Regions from separate parts of the Homo sapiens genome. Here regions 1, 2, 3, 4, 5 and 6 are each linked to region 7. Evidence: promoter capture Hi-C in 16 types of primary human blood cells and fetal thymus (Javierre and others, 2016). All regions are on one chromosome and are shown on one strand. The core of a region is centred on a gene start or on the middle of the fragment in contact, and the rest is flanking DNA. Distances in the headings are between cores, read along the strand shown.

Region 1 (2,725 bases), core at 174-2,673, 350 kb after region 7:
TGAGTAGCGCAATCATAGCTCACTGCAACCTCTTGGGCTCAAACAGTCCTCCCGCCTCAGCCTCCCGAGTAGCTACTAGGACTACAGGTGCACGCCACCATGCTGGCTAATTGTTTTTCGTTTTTTCGTTTTTGTTTTTGTTTTTTGTAGAGACTAGGGTCTCTCCATGTTTTCCGGGCTAGTCTCAACCTCTTGGCCTCAAGTGATCCTCTCACCTCAGCCTCCCAAAGTGCTGGGATTATAGGTGTGAGCCACTGCACCTGGCTGAAAAATGCATTTTTGATGCACTATTTTGAGAGGGTCTCTGGTTCAGGTGTTTGAACAGAAATGTCCTTCTCTACATTTGGGCCTCAAGACCTATCAATGCCACATATATAGTAGGCCCCCAGTAAACGTTTATGGCTCAATGAATCTGTGTATGACATACCTAATTTCATTCAGTTTATCCAGCTAGACATTTTCTTAGAAAAATGACTTAAGGGGTGGACACAAATTCCATAAAATGTTTTAAGCCCTCTTATACTGAATCATAATCGGATGACTTAGGTTTCTCCATGTCCATTTGGAATTATCTCCTGATTTCTTCATAACATTCTGCCAATAGTATTCAGACCTCAGGGCTTTGCTCACAGCCTCTGTAGCAGTGTTTTCCAGTTTGACATTTGCAGGTTAGATTTAGGCCTGGAAACCCCACCACGTCCTGCTCAAGGGACCTGAAGTGGAGAGAGCAGGTAAATATTTAGACACCAGTACTATTTAGCAAAATTGGAGGCTTAAATGTAATTTCCTTGTTTCATTCACTTGGTGAAAAGATTAATTATGTTTACGTGATGCTAAAATTAAATTGTGGTAATATGAAAATCAGACAGCTCAGAACTCAAATGGTAAATGCATCAAGAATCTGTTCTCTAAAATCCATTGTGGAATGAGCTTGGTGTGAAGAAACTCATTAATTAGAAATTCTTTCTTAGAGAATGAGCATTCTACCATGTTCTGCTACTGTCTAGCTGGCAATTGATCTCAGGGACTTTGGAGAACCAAGACTTTTTCATCTGTGGTTGAGATCAAAGAAGACAGAGATAAGGTTGCCAAGGAAACCAAAATGCTACAGAATTATGTGCTGCTCATGCATTTCAATGTGGTTTGAGGTTTGGGAGGCTTTCTTTTTTTTCTTTTGGCACAAATAATAGTACATGAAAATGAGCAATGCCCATGTTCCCAGGTCTTAAAGGAAATGACCACAGGCTTAATGTAACTCAAACCGTGGGCCTAAAGGGAATCCTATTCTTTCTCTTCTTTCTGTACTCAAGCATCAGCAATTAATGGCGTGCTTCCAGTTGGCTTCTCTTTAGTGTGCTTTGTCCCTCTCCATCACAGACACATACCCACACCCACAAACTTTTTAATAACTTTTTCCTGACTTTAAATAAATTACTTGCACAGAATTTCAAAAATACAAACAATTCTCTGACAACATATAAAAGTTACCTGTAATTTTGCCATTTGGAAATACCTAATGTAGTATTTTGTTGTACTTTTCTCCTAATATTTATAGACACAATGGGTACATACTATTTTAAATATATTTATAACATGAAATCCCAAAGTTTTGAGTACAGATTTTCGTGGTTTTTTTTTTTTTTTTTTTTTTTTGAGACGGAATTTCGCTCTTGTTGCCCAGGGTGGAGTGCAATGGTGCGATCTTGGCTCACCACAGCCTCTGCCTCCCCAGTTCAAGCGATTCTCCTGCTGCAGCCTCCCGAGTAGCTGGGATTACAGGTATGTGCCACCACGCCTGGCTAATTTTTTTATTTTTGGTAGAGATGGGGTTTCTCCATGTTGGTCAGGCTGGTTTCGAACTCCTGACCTCAGGTGATCTGCCTGCCTCGGCCTCCCAAAGTGCTGGGATTACAGGCATGAGCCACTGCGCCGGGCTAGATTTTTGTTTTTAAATGATCATATTGTAATCATTTTTCCGTGGCTGCAGGAACAACTCCTATGAACACACAACTGTTTATTTGGCCATTTCCCCCACTGTTGGTTATCTTTTGCTTGTAGAGTTCCAGTATTCTAAATGATGCTGCAGAAGGCATTCCTGTGCATCTTTTTGCATATCTTATTTCCCTAGGATGGAGTCCTCATGTGGGATTGCCGAGTGAGGGCCGTAAGCATTTGTAGGCTTCTGTTGTATTGCCAAATGCTTCTTTGGAAGTCTTATTAACACTAGGGGTTACCAATTTTTTTCTCTCTGCCAAATTTTATTGATCAAAGATACTCAGTTTTCCCCCTTAATTATGCAGAGAAAAAGAAGAATAGCAGCTACCATGGATTGAGAACTTATTGTATGTGCTAAGTCTGTTATTGTTAGTTCTCACAATGGCTGGCTCAAGTAGGTTTCATTGCTCCTGTTTCACAGATGAGAAAACTGAGGTTTAACACCGTGCTTAAGAACCCAGAAGAGCCGGGCGCAGTGGCTCATGCCTGTAATCCCAGCACTTTGGGAGGCTGAGGCAGGCACGTCACCTGAGGTCAGGAGTTCGAGACCAGACTGACCAATATGACTAAACCCTGTCTCTACTAAAAACACAAAAATTAGCCAGGCGTGGTGGCATGCACCTGTAATCTCAGCTACTTGAGAGTCTGAGCCCTGAGAATCACTTGAACCCGGGAGGCAGAGGTTGCAGTGAGCCGAGATCATGCCATTGCAATGCAGACTGGGCAACAA
Region 2 (2,920 bases), core at 361-2,860, 380 kb after region 7:
GGCATTTGCCAGACATCTGCCATTTTAATGTGGAGGGTAGCAAACAGCTTTGTGTGCAGACCTCATTCATTCCTGTGCCCACACCTCCCCGCTCTGCGCAAATCCACCTCTTTGAGTCAGCTTCAGTTTCGCATTTCCAGCCGTCTGGTGGTTGGTCTCCATTCATCTGAACAGACATTTATTTCAGCGCCATCAACGTGGCTGGCATGGTGCAGGGATATTTGGCCTTCCCCCTGGCACCTGAGACTCAGCCAAACCAAACTGCCTTCTCCTGATTTCCCTATTATTTGTTGGTGGGACTCCCAGGTGGAGGTACCTGGGCTTCAAGTGTCAGACTGCCCTGGGATCCTTAGCCCTGCCTCTGTCATTACTCTGGAGCTGCCAGGCTGAATAGACACTGCCCCTGTGATTCCCCTGTACCCATCCCTTTCTTTTCTTTTTCTGTGTCACGTCGTCAACCTGAGTCTAGGCTGCTTTTGCTCACCAGTTCTCTGAATGTCTGGTCCATGCCTCCCAGTTTCTCTTTTTACAACCTGGGCTGAGGATCTTCTGAAAACGTCCCTTCCCTGCTCAGAAAGCGGGTGCACTCTTGCTGTCTGAACGCGGAGCCATTTGGCTTAGAGCTCTCTGATAGTGCAAAAATAATAAATTGTGGGCTTGCTGCTTTCTCCTCCAGACTATGGTCCACTCATTGAGGACGGGGGCTGTCTTCTTCTTCTGTCCTATATGAGTCTTCGCACAGTGACAAACCTTTTCAAATAGGAGCGTGAGTGAAATGGGGGTTGAAAGTAAGCCTCTCTCCTTTGTTTTAAGCTGGTGTAACAGCACATATCAGTTCACCCACACGAAGCAATGGTTGATAGCTTCGATGAGCTGACAAGAAAGGAGGCAGTTTCCTTACTTTCCCAGAGAAAGGCAAGATGGCAGTGAGTTTTAGAAGGTGCTTAGCGCGGGCCCCGCAAGGTGGCTTCCGCCTGTAATCCTAGCGCTTTGGGAGGCCAAGGTAGGCGGATCACCGGAGGTCAGGAGTTTGAGACCAGCCTGGCTGGCCAACATAGTGAAACCCGGTCTCTACTAAAAATACAAAAATTAGTCGGGTGTGGTGGTGTGGGCCTGTAGTCCCGGGTACCCAGGAGGCTGAGGCAGGAGAATCGCTTGAACCCAGGAGGCAGAGGTTGCAGTAAGCTGAGATCACGCCACTGCACACTCACTCCAGCCTGGGTGACAGAGCAAGACCCTGTCTCAAAACAAACAAACAAACAAACAAAAAAACACAGAAGATCCTTCAGTGTTTCAGGTGCTCTTTGGTTTTTTTAGGCCAAATGCTTAAATTGGACAGTTAATTTTATGCATTTCTCTCTTTTGGGCCAATTTGTGAAGCCAGCAAGTGTTTATTGGACAGATGAGTTGTTTGGGGGAAGGGCCAGGGCATCTAACTCTTTTAGGTGTTGGATTTGGTTATGTTTGGTAAAAGAAAATGTGGCATTCACAAAATTGAGCCTAACCACATTTTCCAATAATTTTTGCCTTTCCTGTTGCTGCTCACAAAGGTGGTTGATCAATACCTTACTGGAAAAAATGTCTGAGGACATATGACAGGTTCACTATAGACATATGAGCACAGATACATGCAGTTTAGTTGTGTGTAGTCTTCGTAAGAAGGATAAACGTGTGTGAGTTCAGAAGACAAGAAATAGGGTTGAAGTTAAACAATTTTCAGTAGGGTAACCATACTCTGAAACAGCCAGTCAAGGCTTGTGGGAGACTTCTTATTGGAATCCTTCAGTCAAGACAGTTCTTTGGATTAGGAACCACTTGAGTGCTTCCTCTCATCGCAGTGACCTGCCCTCCTGGAAGGTGTGAGAAAGGCAAGCAGGCTGGATCGTTCTTACTGTTACACAGGGATGGGCTCGTCTGTGCTCTGACTTTGCCTTGGGCCCCATCTCCCTACTTTCCGGGTCAGGGAAGATTGTCTTTTGTGTGTTTGTGTGTATATTTAAGGTGTACAACATGAAGTTTTGATACACTTAGTGAAATGGTTACTATAGTCAAGCAAGTTAACATATCTATCATTTCTCATAATTACTTTTTTTTTTTTTTTTGAGATGGACTCCCTGCTCTGCCGCCCAGGCTAGAGTGCGGTGGTGTGATCTCAGCTCATTGTAACCTCCACCACCCGGGCTCAAGCGATTCTCCTGCCTCAGCCTCCCGAGTAATGGATTACAAGAGTATGCCACCAAGACCAGCTAATTGTTGTGGTTTTAGTAGAGACAGGGTTTCACCATGGTGGCCAGGCTGGTCTCGAACTCCTGACCTCAAGTGATCCGCCTGCCTTGGCCTCCAAGAGTGCTGGGATTATGGGAATGAGCCACTGCACCCAGTCATTTACCTTTTTTTTTTTTTTTTTTTTCAATATGGCAAGAGCTCCTAAAATCTACTGTCTTAGCAGAAATCCCCGGTATAATTCAATGTTGTTGACTAGGAGTCCTCATGCACATTAGGTCTCTGGGCGATGCATCTTGCATATCTGCCTCTCTGCGTCCTTTCACCTACATCTCCCGTTTCCTCCTTCACCTCCCCCACCCCTGCTCCTTGGTAACCACTGTTTTATTTTCTATGTCTTCTACTTAAAAAAATATATTCCACCTATAAGTAAGATCACATACAAGCAAGGTCATGCAGTGTTTGTCTTTCTGTGTCTGGTTTCTTTCACTTAGCATAACGTCCTCCAGGTTCATCCGAATTGTGGCAGAAGGCAGGATCTCTGTCTTTTTTAAGGCTGAAAAATATATTCATATTCTCTCTCTCTCTCTCTCTCTCTCTCTCTCTCTCTCTTTCTCTTTCTGTCTCTCACACTTTCCTTACTCATTCATCAGGGAGGTTCTTAACTGAGAGAGTGAAGCCACCTCGTGCTGGTGCA
Region 3 (3,091 bases), core at 320-2,819, 290 kb after region 7:
TAACAAGGTGTTCCTTGTTATAATGAGTGCTCCTTGTTATAATGAGTGCTATGCATGATCTTTTGAAAAAATATACTTAATTGTACTTTCATTTAACAGAAGAAAATGAAACTGAAGTAATACTGTAATTGTTTCTTCACCACTTTCTTTAAGTTGATTTCTCAGATGTGCCTTTAAGGCAGTGGTTCTTGACTGGGCGTGATTTTTGTCCCCTAGGGGCCATCTGGCAATGTCCCATTTTTGGTTGTCCCAAATAGGGGGTGGGGGAACGCTGGCATCTAGTGAATGGAAGATAGCGATACTGCTAAACATCTTAAATGTGCAGGACAGCCCCCCACGACAAAGAATTATCTGGCCTCAAATGTCCATAGTGTTGAGGCTGAGAACCTGCTCTAAGGGTAAGAAAAAATGATGTTTAATACCATTAGGAAGGTAAAACTGTTAATGTTTTAGCTGGGTTGCAGTTTTAGACAGTTTTAATTGGGCTTCTGTCATGAAAGATGAGTTGATTAACCTCATTATAATTTTTTCCTCCTTTCCTGAACAAGAAAATCAAGAGGTAGCATATGTTGTTTTTACCTTGTCAGGGTTCATAACATTTACGCTCTGTTCTGCAAAAATAATCCCCAGGTGTTTAGTCTTAGTTTTGTTTTGTTTTATTTTATTTTATATTATTTTATTTTTTGAGACGGAGTGTTGCTCTGTTGCCCAGTCTGGAGTGCAGTGGTGCGATCTCAGCTCACCGTAACCTCCATCTCCCAGGCTCAAGTGATTCTCATGCCTCAGCCTCCTGAGTAGCTGGGACTACAAGCATGCGCCACCATGCCTGGCTAATTTTTGTATTTTTAGTAGAGATGGGGATTCACCACGTTGGCCAGGCTGATCTCGATCTCCTGGCCTCAAGATGTCTGCCCACCTTGGCCTCCCAAAGTGCTGGAATTACAGCTGTGAGCCATGGCGCCCGGCCCTTAGTTCTGTACTTAAATGATCAATGCCAAATACCACTTCTCAGCCCATTGTTTCCCCCTTTCTGTGTTGATTTTGAGTCACCTCTTGGTTGGTGGGCTGTGTGATCTTAATATAAATTTAACATGTGTAGGAAGGGAGACGTCGGTCCCTGCCTGCTTTGCCCTGTCAGACTTGCACCTGCAGATTTGAGTTTGTGTCTATGCACCACACTTAGAGGAAGAGTAGAGAGACACGCTGAGTGTCTCTGGGATGCAGTCAGGGTGTGAAGCAGGGTCCCGGGGAGAAGTGGGGTTGGATGTGAAACTGGATTTTGAAAAGACTTCCATGTGGAAGCAGGATTATTGATCTTAACTGAGGGCTCCCAGAGGTTAGAACTAGAACTACATGAACATCAAGGACAGGGTGGCTGATAATAGGCTGGGAAGGTGATGAGTTCCCTGTTAGCCGAAGTGTGTTGGGGAACCACCTGTTGCTATACTGTCCCTAGGTGTTGGGCTTAAGCCATCAGCTGAGCTGCTGCATTAGGTAATTTTTCAATCTTGAGATTCTGATAGTCTAATTAATGCTTTCTGTAACCACCTGTCCTGGGGAAGAGCCCCAGTCACTCTGGTTCCCTGCTTGGTGTTGTTTGGGGCAAGTGGGAGAACAGCCAGGGCCATGTTTCATGAACAAGTGGTTCAGGGTGGAGCTTTAAATGTTCTGTACACCTTAAATTTGGACCCACCATCTACCAACTCAAAAGTGTATGTGTCAGATTCTGCCAAACTAGTTCAGTTGATGTTTGTAGTATTTACAAGATTATAGGAACTGAGCACATTCTAAACTGATTCCTGAGCCAATACATGTATATAGAATCCGGGAAACGTATTGCAGACCTGCAAAGGAAGAGAACATACACAGATTGTTCCCTGCATGATTGGAATTGGGTGCTCTGTTAATGTAGTAATCAGATGTCTATCGCAGTGTGACTTACTGATGTCTTTGATGTGTTGCAGGGGAGCTATCCAGTTTGGGAAGATTTCATAAACAAAGCAGGAAAGCTGCAGTCCCAGCTTCGGTAAGTAGAAGCACATGTTCTACAGGAAAAGGACAACATCCTCAGACAAGGATGGAGTGGGACAGACCAAAATGCAGATTGATTAGGGTTGATTCAGGAAGTGCTGCAGATAGGGAAGCCTGTGCTGGGTTCTGATTGGAGCATGATCACCTATAGCCATATATCCTGGGCCCTGATTGCCATATGTAAAATGGGACTCATTCATGTCTGCTTTCCTCCTTCCATAGGAATTTTGAGAGTCAAATGAGGTAGGTACTGTATGTAAGGTAGCAACGGGTAACATTTATGTATTGCTCACTATGTGCCAGGCATTTGTTAACTTGTTTAAATCTCATAACCCCACAAGGTACATACCATTATTATCCCCATTTTACTGATGAGGAAACTGAGGCACAGCGAAGTTAAATAACTTATCCATAGTCACATCACTACTAAATGGCAGAGCAAGGATTTGAACTTAGGCTCTCTGGCTCCAGAGTCCATGTTCTCCTCCATTCTGCTTACTGCCTCTCCACAAATAGAGTTTAAAACCTCCTGTTGGCTGGGTGTGGTGGCTCACACCTGTAATCCCAGTACTTTGGGAGGCCCAGGCAGGCAGATCACAAGGTCAGGAGTTCAAGACCAGTCTGGCCAACATGGCGAAATCCCATCTCTACTAAAAATACAAAAATTAGCTGGGCATGGTGACGAGTGCCTGTAATCCCAGCTACTTGGGAGGCTGAGACAGGAGAATCGCTTGAATACAGGAGGTAGAGGTTGCAGTGAGCCGAGATTGTGCCATTGCACTCTAGCCTGGGCGACAAGAGCAAGAGTCCACCTCAAAAGAAAATAATAATAATAAAATAAAATAAAACCTTGTGTTGACTATTGTATAATTCCATTTACATGAACTATCTAGCAAAAGCATATCTTTAGAGAGATGTTGATCATTGGTTGCTTGGGGATAGGGTGAAAAAGGAGAGTGAGAAGTGGGTAAGACAGATCTTTTGGGGTGGTGGAAATGTTCTAAAATTGGATTGCGGTGATGATTGTGCAACTCCAAATTTACTAAAAATCATTGACTCA
Region 4 (2,810 bases), core at 299-2,798, 320 kb after region 7:
TCTGTTCACAATTCCTTGAATGAGGATTTTGGGGTCATTGTTTTTCTTCCATTTTTTAAATTTCATTTTTTTAAAATTGTGGGCTGCTTCCTTTTTAACCACATGTTAAACATTACACATTAAACGTTAAAACATTTGTGTATAAGAAACTTTTTTTCTTTTTTTTTTGCTTACTTTAAATGGAAGTGCTGTCACATTAAACATCAGGTTTAAATCACATGGAAATAAAATGGGGCCAGATAGTTGAATGTACTGTCATTTCACTACTTTAGGAAACATCAGGAGAGGAACCAAGATGGTCTGAAAAGGTCATAGACTGGGGAAGGAAGGGCTGGGATGACCATTTGTCAGCTTTCAAAAAGCAAGACAAAATGGTTATGCCTGGTTCAGATCCCAGCCATTTTTGTTTTCTTCAAGAAAGTGGTTAGAAATGTGTTTTGGTTTCAGAAAAGCCCTGGTTTTCTTTGATGTTTAGTATAAATTTGGCTTGAAATGCCATATTCCATCATTGTCATATGTAGGCATGTGCTTTTTGTGTGTGCTGTAAGGACAATGTCTACACTGGGTCATTTCCCTCCCCACCCAGTTCCCCTTCGTTGAAGTAGGAGCTGCTGTTTCAGTTAGCTGCCCTGAGCTGGCCTTGCAGTTAGCCACTGGCCCATTCAGCAGCCTGGTCTCCCCTTGCTGACTCCAGGCTTCCTTCTGCATCACGAGAGCCAAACCGGCCACTTTAGCCTCCTGTCTACTGTATTCTTACCCTGCAGGAATGGAGGCTGTAGGCTAGAGCCTGCCTGTTCCGTGAGGCTCAGATCCAAAGGCTTACTCTCCTGGAATGGGGCCTCTCTCCTGTCTCTGTGCCGCCCCTCACACCTGTGGCCTTGTGCACTGATGGATTATTTGCCCGAGGTGAAGAGGAAGCGTTGAAGGGATAGCCGTGTTAGTTTTGGATTCCAGCTACTTTGCTGCTGATGGTTGTGCAACCTCCAGGGACCTGCTATTTAGCAAATAGGGCCGAGCACAGCCTGGGGGAGGCTGCCGAAGATGGGGGTGGGCACAAGTTGATGACTAGTGTCCCCACCCCTGCTCTGACTTCACTTAAAGACAACCCCCAAAATGGCTTTAGCGTAAAATGGAAAAGATGGTAAATTATTCTGGCGTGAGGGCTACCCTGTTGTTAGAGTTAAGAAAGTGCATGGCTGCTGTTTAAGAACCTTTGATTTGAGTTGAATCCCAGCCTGCACTCTTTTTTGCAGTGTGACTTTTGGGAAGTTGCCTTAACCTCTGTGTACCTGTTTTCTCATCTGTAAATTGGATGTGATAACAGCACCTTTGTAGGCTGTGTGTGGAGTCTTTGAGAAGGTGTATAAAGAGCTTTCAGTGCCTGGTTCATAGTAGCCTTCAATCGTTAGCTTATATGAATCAGGAAAGCTAGTATTTATTAGCACATACAAATGTGTCAGGCACTATGCTCTGGGCTTCCTATCAATTATAGTAATCTTTATAGAAAGCAGTTTTGTTTTGTTTTATTTTGTTGAGACGGCATTTTTTTTGCTCTTGTCACTGAGGCTGGAGTGCAATGGCATGATCTCGGCTCACTGCAACCTCTGCCTCCCAGGTTCAAGCAATTCTCCTGCCTCAGCCTCCTGAGTAGCTGAGATTACAGGCACCTGCCACCACACCCGGCTAATTTTTGTATTTTTGGTAGAGATGGGGTTTCACCATGTTGGCCAGGCTGGTCTTGAACTCCTGACCTCAAGTTATGCACCCGCCTTGGCCTCCCAAAGTGCTGGGATTACAGGCATGAGCCACTGCGCCCAGCCAGGAGGCAGTTTTGAGAGAGATACTGTTGATTTAAACTAAACAGTGGTCATGTATTTCTATCATTGAAATATATTTGGGATGGTTACATTTTTATCGTGGATATTTAAAAAGACATACCTCAAAACAAAACAAAACAGAAACTGGGAATGGCATAGAAGCAGAACCTTTGCTGCTTGAAATAGCTCCTTCAGCATAAAACACATGTAGGAGTCCTGAGGTTGGCATTTCTCTCTGCCGCTGGGATGCTGAGTGGAAGATTTGTTACTTGAGTTCATCATTTGCTTTTTTTTTTTTTTTTTAAATGTCACAGCTTCTCTGTGTTGTTTTTGACTCCATAGACACATTTGTCTAAGGTTTTAAAAGTTCAGCTTTTCACTTAGGAGGAAGCTGAGCTCTGTAATTTTCCTTTTTGCATCTGACACTAGGACATTGGAGTCTCTTTCATGCTGGGGGACCCTCTCTACTCTGGGCTATACCACTTAATCCTCAGGTGGCCCTGAACAGATTATTAACTTGCTTAAAGGTGGTTAAGGAGCTCCTCTCCTGCGGTCTAAAGAAATCCCCACTCTGGCCAGGAGGGTCTTGGTGACCTTGCCGAACCATCCTCCCCTAGGAGTAGAGACTGGGGTAACATAAAATGCAGAGAAGCAATGACCTCAAAGCAGCTGGGTAGATGTGACAGCTCCTCAAAGCCTTACCTGTTTTGCCTAAGAGGAGTGTCCTTCATTCGTACCTATAGAAACACTACTTGGCAACAGTGAATGTTCTCTGACACATGTAATAGGTTGTTAAGTTTCTCTATTTAGAGTCCATTGGTAGTCAAGACCACCTGGGTGCTGTTTGCAAGACATAACTATCATGGAAGTATTTAATACTATACTATTGGTATAGCAGGTACATGATATGCTATTAGTGCTGTAGAAATGTTATGTTAGAGACGGGAACCTGAAGCCCCTCCTTGTGGCACATAGACAACCTTTGTTTTTTCC
Region 5 (2,796 bases), core at 290-2,789, 340 kb after region 7:
GCCCATTTCGGCTCCAGAACCCAGCCAGGCAGCTGTTGGCATAGCATCCCTGAGGGAGGTTTCAGCGTTGGGTGGGGAGTGGGGCCCAGATACTGATATCCAGTGTTCTCACCTGGCTAAAGGAGAGCAGCTGCCCCTTGGTTACCTGGAGAAAACAATCAGGAAAGGCTCGTGGTCACGTCTCGGTCCCTTGGATCATTAGGTAGTTGCCCTTGATTTCCGTGAGCTTTATCTGACTGCAAGGGTACATTACACGGTCCCCTTGGATACCACGACAATTGTACCTGGTCTGTTTCCTCCCAAGAATTTTGGAGGACTTTAAAATTTAACCCGTGGGAGGGCAGGGAGGGAAGTCTTGGTACTTACAAATAAAAAAGCATTACTGCCTTATTCTCCCACCCCCTCCCCCAATATTTACAAATATAATAAATAATAGCTTTCGTTTACTCTCTAGAGCAGGGGCTCTTCAATGTGGGAGTTTACCTCAGAATCACTTGGGTAGCTGTTTGACAGTACGTATGTCTAGACCCTGTCTTCAGAGGGTGCGTCAGGAGGCCTGGGGCAGAGCCCGGATCCTGAGTATTGGGGAAAGGCTCTCCAGGTAATTGTGATGGACACCCTAGACAGAGAACCACTGTGTTAGATGGAAAAGCTTCCTGGTGGCAGAGACTGAGGCCTCTCTTGGTGTCCTGTGCTGTGTATGGCATACAGTATTTTTTTTATTCAGAAGTATTTATTGAACATCTACTATGTGCCGGGCCCTGGAATACATTCGTATCACTGTTCTTGGTGCTCCTAGAGCCCTGGCGGAGGGGCCCTAATTGTGTTGGATGCCAAGAAACCAGATAGGCAGCTTCTATTCATTCTCAGTTGTCATTGGATTATGGTCTTCCTGAGTGGTGTGAGGTAGGCACCCGGAATTATAGCGTTGACGTTGTCCTCTTTCCCAAAAATTGAACATAGCTCACCAAGCAGGGGCCCCTGGAACGTTGTAGCACATGCGATCAATAGATCTAACATGCCACCCCTGCCTTTCCCATTAACTTTCAGGCTAAAGAGCTGAGCTTGGGACAAGACTGGGCTGGATCATTTCCCTTTCTCTTTAATCTAAAAAGAACCTGAAGCTGGCTACTTCCTTGGTGTTCATGGATGGGTGAGAGCCATCTTGAGCCTCTCCTATCTGCTAGACACAAAGGACGTGAAGATGAATGGAGCATGGCCCTCATACTTTACAAATATCATAGTCTAAGGGGAGTCAGAAATGCAGACAGATGTGGGCCGTACAGTGTGACAGGTCCTGAATGTATGCTGAGCAAACTGTGAACAGGCTGTCGCAGCTATGGTGAGTTGTGGGAAAGAGGGGAATCCTTTATGGGACAGTGCTGATTGGACTTCCCAGGTTCCTCCCTAGCCCCGGCCTTTGAGGGGTGGTGTTTGTAGCGGGTGGCTGACCAGGAAGGAAGCCTTACCACCCCTCACCTGGGCTGAGGAGGCTCTGCTTCGTGCCTCTCCCAGCAGTGTCTGCACCTTTGGCGTGGCTAGGACTCCACTACCTGACCCTGTGGCCTGTCCAGTTTTCAAGCTGATGGTCACACGTATCTTCCCAGCTGCGGGGCTCCTTTTGTGTTCACCTGAGACAATCGTAGCTTCTGTTTCTAAGAGCTAGTGCTTTGATCATGTTTTCATCAGAAAAACATGGTTCATGAACTTGCTCTTTGTCTAGATCCTGTAATAATCAGGTTGTGCAGGCATGAATTGTTAGTAAAAATTCATCAGTTTACAGAAAAAAAAAAAACCTAGAAGAAAATAAAGGGACACGTCTAACATTGGTGTTGTTTCTGGGTAGTGCGTGTATGGGGACCATTTTCCTAAGGTTTTTACTTTTCAGGTTATCCTTTCATTTTGGAAAAAGACGATAAATATTATTTCTTAAAACCTACATGTGTTGGTGAGCTGTTGTTACTGAAACCCTTTCCTCCAAGGATGAAGGTTCTGAATGATAAACTTTTTAATGATCACACTCATCCCACTGCCCTCTGGCATCTTATTGGTGGCTGGGTCTGGTTTTACTTTTCACTGAATGTTCCATTTTCTCTGTTGATTGACGATGGCCTCAGGGCCAAGAGGTGACTACTGTCAGAGGATACAGTGTGAACCAAATTGTGCGTGTGTGTACGTGTGCGTGGGAGGGTGTGTATGTGTGTTCCACTCGGACCTTGGGGCACAAGTCCCTCATCCTTTGCTCTTGTGGGAAGACACTGGACCAGGCTGCTTAGTATAGAGGAGAACCAGAGTATCACAGGGCACCCAGGAGGAAGAGAGGCATGGGAGAGTTGAGGGGCATTTCCATACTGCACTAGCATGAAAGCTGTACCACATTCAGAATTTTAGAACACTGATATCATGTGCATTTAGAACAAGCTTCGTAGAAATATTGTGGCTGCTCTGATTCCTCCACTAAGCCAGAGCCTCATATTTGGTGTGTAGTGGGAGGCATCTCAGCCCCAGCAAGTGGGAGGGAGGGTTAATGCTCTAAACAAGGAACTTCCTCTTCTGTTGGAGGCGTGGGTTAGTGATCTGTGCTGTTGTGTGGGAAGCCTTGTTGATTTATCCCCTTGATCTTGCCTCCACCCTTCAGCTTGAGGGTGTGTGTGTGTGTGTGTGTGTGTGTGTGTGTGTGTGTGTGCATGCGCATGGGCAACTTTCTAAATACCAAAATATACATTCTAATTATAAACTAGTGCCATTCGTTCCTTGCCCCCACCCTCCCTTGTTTACTTTCTTTTGGTTAAAGTG
Region 6 (3,128 bases), core at 621-3,120, 270 kb after region 7:
GAGTTCAGGAGGCTGGGTAAAAGAGAGACCTGGGGCATGGAAGTCAGAAAACCAGGGTTGGATTCCTTCCAACAGTGCAACAAGGACCAGAATGATAATTTCCTTCAAGTAGACATAATACGTATAAAATGCCCAGAATGCACACAGTAGACCCTCAGCAATGTGCCTGGGACAGCACACCAATGTTACAGAAGTGAAATGGGGCCAGGGCTGGACCTGAGCCTTGGCCTCATCCCTGCTTCTTCTGTTGATAAGATTTATCGAATGATTACTTACGAGATGCCAGGTACCACTTGAAGTGCTTTCATCGATCAGCTCATGTAATGTTCAGAACAGCCCTATCAGGTAGAAGCCATCATTATCCCCATTTACAGATGGATGAGGAAACTGAGGCCCAGAAAGGTTAAGTAACATACCTAAAGGCATACAGTTAGTAGGTTGTGAACTGGAGTTTGAATCCAGGCAATCTGGCTCTACAAGCAGTCATCTTGATAGTTAGAATACCAATAGTATTAAAATCACAATAATGATTGGCAGCAAACGATGTGTCAAGCACCCGTTATTGGCAAGGTGAAGATGAGTCGGATGCATTCGAACGCCCTTGGGGACAGGATCCAGCAGGGGTGATCAAGAGATCAGTTACTTCCTGAAGGTAACACCCTTCCGGGTGATTTCGGGGAGACGGATGGGGAAGGTGGGTTGCAGTTAAGAGTTGGGCAGAGTGATCCAGGGGAACATTATCTTCTGCAGCTGTGCTGTGTAACTCCATGCATCCCTTTGATCCATAAAGTTTTCAAAGCCAGACCTTTTCCCATTACGGAGTGAATCTGACACAAGTGTACAGAATTTTGCACTTGGTTTCTTTTGGCCCCACTCCCCCCAGTCTTTTCTTTTGTTATGTTTTGTGCTTCAAATGGTTAGCTCAAGGGTTAAAGGAACTGTCCGGAGTTAGGTGCCTATGTCTTAATATCTTTTAAAAGTTGCTCATTTGATTCTCCTCCCTCTGGCCCATTTGGCGTTCATCTGAATGAGGGCTCCTGGTTATGCAGATAGGCAGTGGAGCTGTGAAAATGGACCACTAGGCCCCAAATCAACCTGGGCACATTTGCGCTCTGCAGGTTCAACCTCCCAGGAGGGCTCCCTGCGGTTATACCAACGCTGGCTGCTCTCAGTGGGCCTGAAAACCATCAACCGTCCAAGTCATAGGCAATCAGCAATCTCGATAGACTGATGGATCGTGGACAGAAGCTCTAACGCTGTTTCCATTCATTTAGCAACAGCAAATCAATCCACTTTCCCAGCATCCTGCAACTTTATCGAACTCGGCATCCCATTGCAGGATACGCCCCCGAACTCTCCTTAATTATATATTTCGCTATTTGCAATCAGGACTCGGCGATGCAGTCCTGACATCAGAGAATGGGCGTCTTCTCAGAAGGCCGCAGTAGCGGCAGCAGCTTTCCCGCCCTACTGAGCGCTCACTACAAGCGGGCTCTGGGCTAGGCGCGCCACCCGTGCAAGTCCCCGGGGAGCGGCGGTGCACCCTCCGTCCCGCGCGCTCGCAGCCATTGTAGGGGTGGGCGCTCGCCAGGCAGGGTGCCGACACGCCCTCTCCGCGCTGCGACGGGCGGCCGGGGGAGGAGAGGGTGCGCTGTGCGCACCGGAGGGAGAGGCTCCGGCCCAGCGCCGCCTGCCCGCCAGCAGACCAGCAGGCTCCTCTTTGCGGCGGGTGCCCCACGCGCCTCTCGGGCGCGCGCTCCCAGCCCCGCCCGCGTGCGGCGGCCGCACGGCCGCGAGAGCGCGCCTCCGCTTGGCGGGCACGGCCGCGAGCGCGCGTGCGCCCCTCCGAACGTCCCCGGGAGCCCAGCCAGAGCGAGCGCCGGGGCCGGGCGCGCAGGAGTGAAAAGGAGGCGGCGGCCGCAGCTGCGAGCAACAGATCCGGACGCCGCGAGCTGACCCGCTCTGCTGTTGGGCGATTTTTTTTTAATTGCAGAAAAATTTATTAAATTGGAAAATCTTGCGTTTTTCAATGGCGCTGGCCCCGGGTCAGCGGGCGATTTTCTCTGCATCAAGATGGGCTTTGCCGTTTCCGTAGTGGGCACCAGTGGTGGCCTGATTGTCAGTCTTCTCCCGGCATTTTTAAGGCCAGGAGCCGAGCGCTGCTTGTAGGCGAATACCCTACAGAGCGGTTTGGCTTTTTAAATTACTGTTATTATTTTGGGCAGAGAACAGTCGGTCTGGTGCACCCCGTCCTCGCTGCAGAAGAGGCTGCGAGTCCGAGGTGGGTCTCTCGGAAGGTGAAATTCCTTCTGGGGTGAGCGAGCCCCGGCCCCGCGCGCAGTCCAGCGGCCCCGCGTGTGTGCCCTCGCCCTGCCGGAGCCGGGAAAATGGAGGCTGTGATTGAGAAGGAATGCAGCGCGCTCGGAGGCCTCTTCCAGACCATCATCAGCGACATGAAGGTAGGACGCCGGGGGTGCGGCTGCGGCGCCGGCCGCCGCGCTCTGACCTCGCCGCCGCGCTTCGCCTCCACCCCGGGCCGGGCACCCGGCCCTTCCCTGCAGTGTGGCCACCGGCCACCTGCGGGAGCTCCCGGCCGGAGTGTCACCTGCTCACCCGGGGCGCTGCTCCGGGCTCTGCGGGGTCACTGGGCGGGTGGCTTCTCTGGGGGGTGTCTGCTGTCCCACGCCATCTCCCCCGCTCATTGTCCCAGGGGGCGGCACCATTTCTTTCCCTCGGGGGCTCAAGGCACTGGCTGCAAGTTTTCCCATTGTCTGTCCCTGAAGTAAGTGTCTGGGACCCGCGGGGGCTGGATGCCCGGGAGGACACCTGATTCCTCCGGGCACGGGGTGGGGGCGCCTGGCGCGGTGGTGGGGAGGAAGTGGGGGCTCTGCCCGCTCGCAGGAAGGAGTCCCCTAGCCTAGGAGACTGAGAGGGAAAGCCAGTCCCTCCTTGGCTGTCAGGTCTACTTGGAGTGGGGTATCTGAGCAAATTAGTTATTAATTGGGCCGTTCCGAAGCTGGTAAAGGTGTGCGTGCCCTCTCTTAGCCCTCCCGCGGGGCGCGGGGCCGAAGTTCCCGGGCAGCCTTGCAGGGGCCCCGCCTTCTCCCAGCTGAGCCTAAAGGCAAGAT
Region 7 (3,024 bases), core at 1-2,500:
AGTGAACCCAATCCTACTCCTAAATAAGACATTCATCTGCCCGCTTTGAAATCAACCTACCCTCCTGGCCTCGAGCTGCTCCTTATTTTCTGATTCAGGGGGGGATTTGGCCCAGAAGAAGCCAATGAAAGGCAGGCCTGAGAGAATATCCGAGAAGAGGGCGAACTGGGAGCCGCTCTGCTGGCGCCCGAGGAGACCCCCGTTTCGGTGGCGACAGCGGTAGGAGAGCACCAGGCCCAGCGAGAGGAACACCAGCACGCACAACAGGACCTCCCTGTTGGCCAAAGTGATGAAGTCCCCGAACTTCTTATAAAAATAGGTGAAAGTGGCAATGCCCAGAAAAGTCCACATGGTTCCAAGGCTTCTTTGGTGGCACCGGTCAAGGCGGAGATTATCTGCTCGAGTGGGTTTAAGGTTCTCCCCAAAATGAGGTACCAAGAGGAGCACGGAGAGCCGGCCAGACTCCAGTAAACAGTGTCCCAGGACGAGAAGTCCGATCAGACCAGTTTTTAAAAATCATATAAAGTTAGTGTAAAAGTATGTGAAGCCAAGTTGTATAGGGCGTAGAAAGCAGTATTTAAAAATCGCCTGCTGGAACAGCTCCCGAGCAGACTCGCTCCTCCTCGCCCAGGAAATCCAGATATTCCCTTTTTTTCTTTTTTGATGGTGTTCCCTGAGCGGTTGCTGCGGGTGATGGATACTCTTCTGATACTGGCTCTTCGTGCTATAATTTCTTTTCTCACCAAGAGCAGGTGCCCTTTCAGAAGGGAATGGGAGTGGAGGGAGGGTCACAGAAACACCTCGGCACTGGGGGAAACGTGGCCTAGCCTCTGGCGACGGCGAGCAGCGGCCGGAAGGCACGGGGGCTGCGGGCCGGCGCGGGTTCAGAGGCTTCTTTTTCCGCGGACGGAGACACTGTACAGCCCAACCTCGGGAAAACGCCAACGCCGACGCCTTCTCCAACAAAAGATGGCCTCGGACTCAAGAGTGCGGCTCCAGGGCAATGCAGCCCCAACCTAAAGATTTAGAGGCCTCCCGTTTCGCTGGCCCCCAGAGCCGCCCACCGCGACTGCACTTCCCCACCGATAAAAGGTGGTTTCCAGGGTACCTCCCTCAGATGGCGGCGGCGGCTCCCGACGGCTTCCTCACCAGCATCCCTCGCGGGCGGCGGCTCTCGCCAGCGCGGCGCGGCCCCAGTAACCAGAGTAACCGTCGCACGCCCCCACTCGCCGCCAGGCTCCACGCGTCTCAGCCAGCTGGGCGGGCTCGGCCCAGACGAGGGACCGGGGGCGGGGCTCAGGCGCGAGTCCGCCCATACCGCGCGCCCCGCGTGCTGCCCCGCCCCCTACCCCTGCTCCTGCCGCCGCCGGCCAATGAGGGCGCGCACCGCGCGGTAGGCCGAGATGGCGCTATGCCGCGTTTGGCCAATCGGAGGCGGCGCAACCTGCGCGGCGACGCCCCGAAAGGCGCTAGGGCGATGTTGCGTGGTGCGGGTTGGGGCGTGGGGATGGGCGCGGGCCGGCTCCGGCGTGGGTGGGGCCAGGGGTCGCCTAGGAGGCGCTCTGGGGCCGGGATCGGCGTCGGGGTCGGGGTTGGGGTTGGTTCACCGCAGCAGCCCCAGCTCCTGCGCCCTCCCTGGACTGAGGTGTGCTCGCTTTGAGGAGAAGCCTGGAGTGATCCGCTGCCTCGGGTCGGAACGTTTCCATTCATTCCGCTAGCATTTATTGAGCGCTTATGATATGTCAGTCCCCGGAGTCCGAAAGAGGAATCAGACACAGCTTCCCTGCCCTGTGTATGTGGAGAGGGCGGAAGGGAGGGCCATGAGTGCGTGGAGAGCCTGACATTCCAGCTGAAGCTGGAAGAATGAGTAGGCTTTTGCCTTAAGAAGAAAAGGAGAGGACGCTCCAGGTGCTCAGGCTAGAGATACACGGATGCGCCCAGCCCGTTCTCTCAAGACCAGAAACGTTGGGGGTGGGGGCTCGGAGGCAAAGAAGTCAAATAGTCGTGTCATAGGTGTCCTGAGAAGGGGGTGGTTAGAGAGGGAGCCATGGAAACCCAAGAGGTGGTCCTTCCCTTGGCCTGGAGAAGTCTGGTGAGGCGCCCAGGGGGAGGTTACACGGTGTCCAGGACAAGCAGTCCGAGGGAGCAAAAGTGTGCAAAAGTCTCGGAGTGAGACAGCCCTTATTCTACTACGATGAAACTTACCTAAAATTTATTGAGGCTTAAGACCTCAGTGTCTTTGCTCATCCTGTTTCTTAACTCTGGACTTCCTTCTTTAACCCCTATGATAATAGGTGCAAATCCCTTCTGCCTTTTGGAGCGTGGCTGCATTGTCACCTCTTCCACCAAATCGCCATTGACCTTCACCAAGTCACATAACTTTATTCATACTTTTTAATCTCTAGATTCCCTAAAGATCTGTGTCTGATAAGATCACCCACAGCACCTAGCACAATGCTCTGCCCTTAATTTATCCTCCATAACATGTATTTAATGAATGATGAACGACACTGGCGCATAAAAGCAAGACTAGGCAACTAGAGTTAGGAGACCCAGATTCTGGCTACCGCTAACCAGACTGTGACCTTTTACAGATGTTACAAGTCACTCTGCCTCTGTGGGGAGAAGGCAACTTCTTCATGAACTCGAACATCCTTTGCAATTCTGTATCAGATACTTGGCAGGGTTTAAAAAAACATGGCACCTCTTATAACTTTTCACCCCCAATATTATGTTTTATCTGCTAATAAAATAATTATTTGGTAAAACACCCGCACAGGCGTTCACTTGACCCTCAAAACAACTTTGATTTTTAAAATGAGGAAAATGAAAATTAAAGAGGTTAAATGGCTTGACTAAATCACAGCTGTGATTAAATCGTAATGATGAAACCAAAAGTCAAAGTCCTGGTCTCCAAATCTTGTGGTTCCCCAGTATGCATAATTATCAATAACTGCCTTGCTTTCCAATACTTTTATTCTTTCTTCTACAATATTCCTCACTGTTACCAGTAAGTTTGGCTGT

The links. Contacts are between HindIII fragments. The CHiCAGO score rates a contact against its expected background, and 5 or more counts as called.
Region 1: a fragment that was not itself captured here is called in contact with the fragment with the promoter of SQLE in region 7 in 7 of 17 cell types (fetal thymus, erythroblasts, megakaryocytes and 4 more); the score reaches 9.3 in fetal thymus.
Region 2: a fragment that was not itself captured here is called in contact with the fragment with the promoter of SQLE in region 7 in 6 of 17 cell types (erythroblasts, naive B cells, total B cells and 3 more); the score reaches 8.7 in erythroblasts.
Region 3: a fragment that was not itself captured here is called in contact with the fragment with the promoter of SQLE in region 7 in 4 of 17 cell types (megakaryocytes, erythroblasts, naive B cells and 1 more); the score reaches 13.0 in megakaryocytes.
Region 4: a contact is called between a fragment that was not itself captured here and the fragment with the promoter of SQLE in region 7, in 2 of 17 cell types (megakaryocytes and erythroblasts). The highest score is 8.4, in megakaryocytes.
Region 5: a fragment that was not itself captured here is called in contact with the fragment with the promoter of SQLE in region 7 in 8 of 17 cell types (megakaryocytes, erythroblasts, M2 macrophages and 5 more); the score reaches 12.1 in megakaryocytes.
Region 6: a contact is called between the fragment with the promoter of MTSS1 here and the fragment with the promoter of SQLE in region 7, in 6 of 17 cell types (erythroblasts, megakaryocytes, naive B cells and 3 more). The highest score is 12.7, in erythroblasts.

The regions. Positions count from the first base shown.
Region 1 is chr8:124,642,627-124,645,351 of GRCh38, reverse strand. All of the region lies in intron 3 of MTSS1 (MTSS I-BAR domain containing 1), which reads left to right. Among named protein-coding and RNA genes, the nearest start is that of MTSS1, 84 kb to the left of the region's middle. The HindIII fragment of the contact is 3,316 bases long and covers 1-2,725 here.
Region 2 is chr8:124,621,976-124,624,895 of GRCh38, reverse strand. The region is part of intron 3 of MTSS1 (MTSS I-BAR domain containing 1); the gene reads left to right. Among named protein-coding and RNA genes, the nearest start is that of NDUFB9, 84 kb to the right of the region's middle. The HindIII fragment of the contact is 7,610 bases long and covers 1-2,920 here.
Region 3 is chr8:124,703,065-124,706,155 of GRCh38, reverse strand. It overlaps MTSS1 (MTSS I-BAR domain containing 1), which reads left to right. Exons shown (of 14, transcript NM_014751.6): 2 at 1,965-2,026. Among named protein-coding and RNA genes, the nearest start is that of MTSS1, 24 kb to the left of the region's middle. The HindIII fragment of the contact is 4,968 bases long and covers 1-3,091 here.
Region 4 is chr8:124,680,516-124,683,325 of GRCh38, reverse strand. All of the region lies in intron 3 of MTSS1 (MTSS I-BAR domain containing 1), which reads left to right. Among named protein-coding and RNA genes, the nearest start is that of MTSS1, 47 kb to the left of the region's middle. The HindIII fragment of the contact is 4,754 bases long and covers 1-2,810 here.
Region 5 is chr8:124,660,323-124,663,118 of GRCh38, reverse strand. All of the region lies in intron 3 of MTSS1 (MTSS I-BAR domain containing 1), which reads left to right. Among named protein-coding and RNA genes, the nearest start is that of MTSS1, 67 kb to the left of the region's middle. The HindIII fragment of the contact is 1,769 bases long and covers 655-2,423 here.
Region 6 is chr8:124,727,215-124,730,342 of GRCh38, reverse strand. MTSS1 (MTSS I-BAR domain containing 1) reads left to right here and starts at 1,870. Exons shown (of 14, transcript NM_014751.6): 1 at 1,870-2,459. The coding sequence starts at 2,388. It overlaps LOC105375741 (a long non-coding RNA gene), which reads right to left and starts at 1,804. Exons shown (of 3, transcript XR_002956670.2): 1 at 277-1,804. The HindIII fragment of the contact is 14,334 bases long and covers 1-3,128 here.
Region 7 is chr8:124,996,731-124,999,754 of GRCh38, reverse strand. It overlaps SQLE (squalene epoxidase), which reads right to left and starts at 1,250. Exons shown (of 11, transcript NM_003129.4): 1 at 61-1,250. The coding sequence starts at 351. It overlaps SQLE-DT (SQLE divergent transcript), which reads left to right and starts at 1,557. Exons shown (of 2, transcript NR_134457.1): 1 at 1,557-1,792; 2 at 2,595-2,767. RefSeq lists enhancers at 890-939, 1,870-1,929 and a silencer at 1,150-1,649. The HindIII fragment of the contact is 7,996 bases long and covers 1-3,024 here.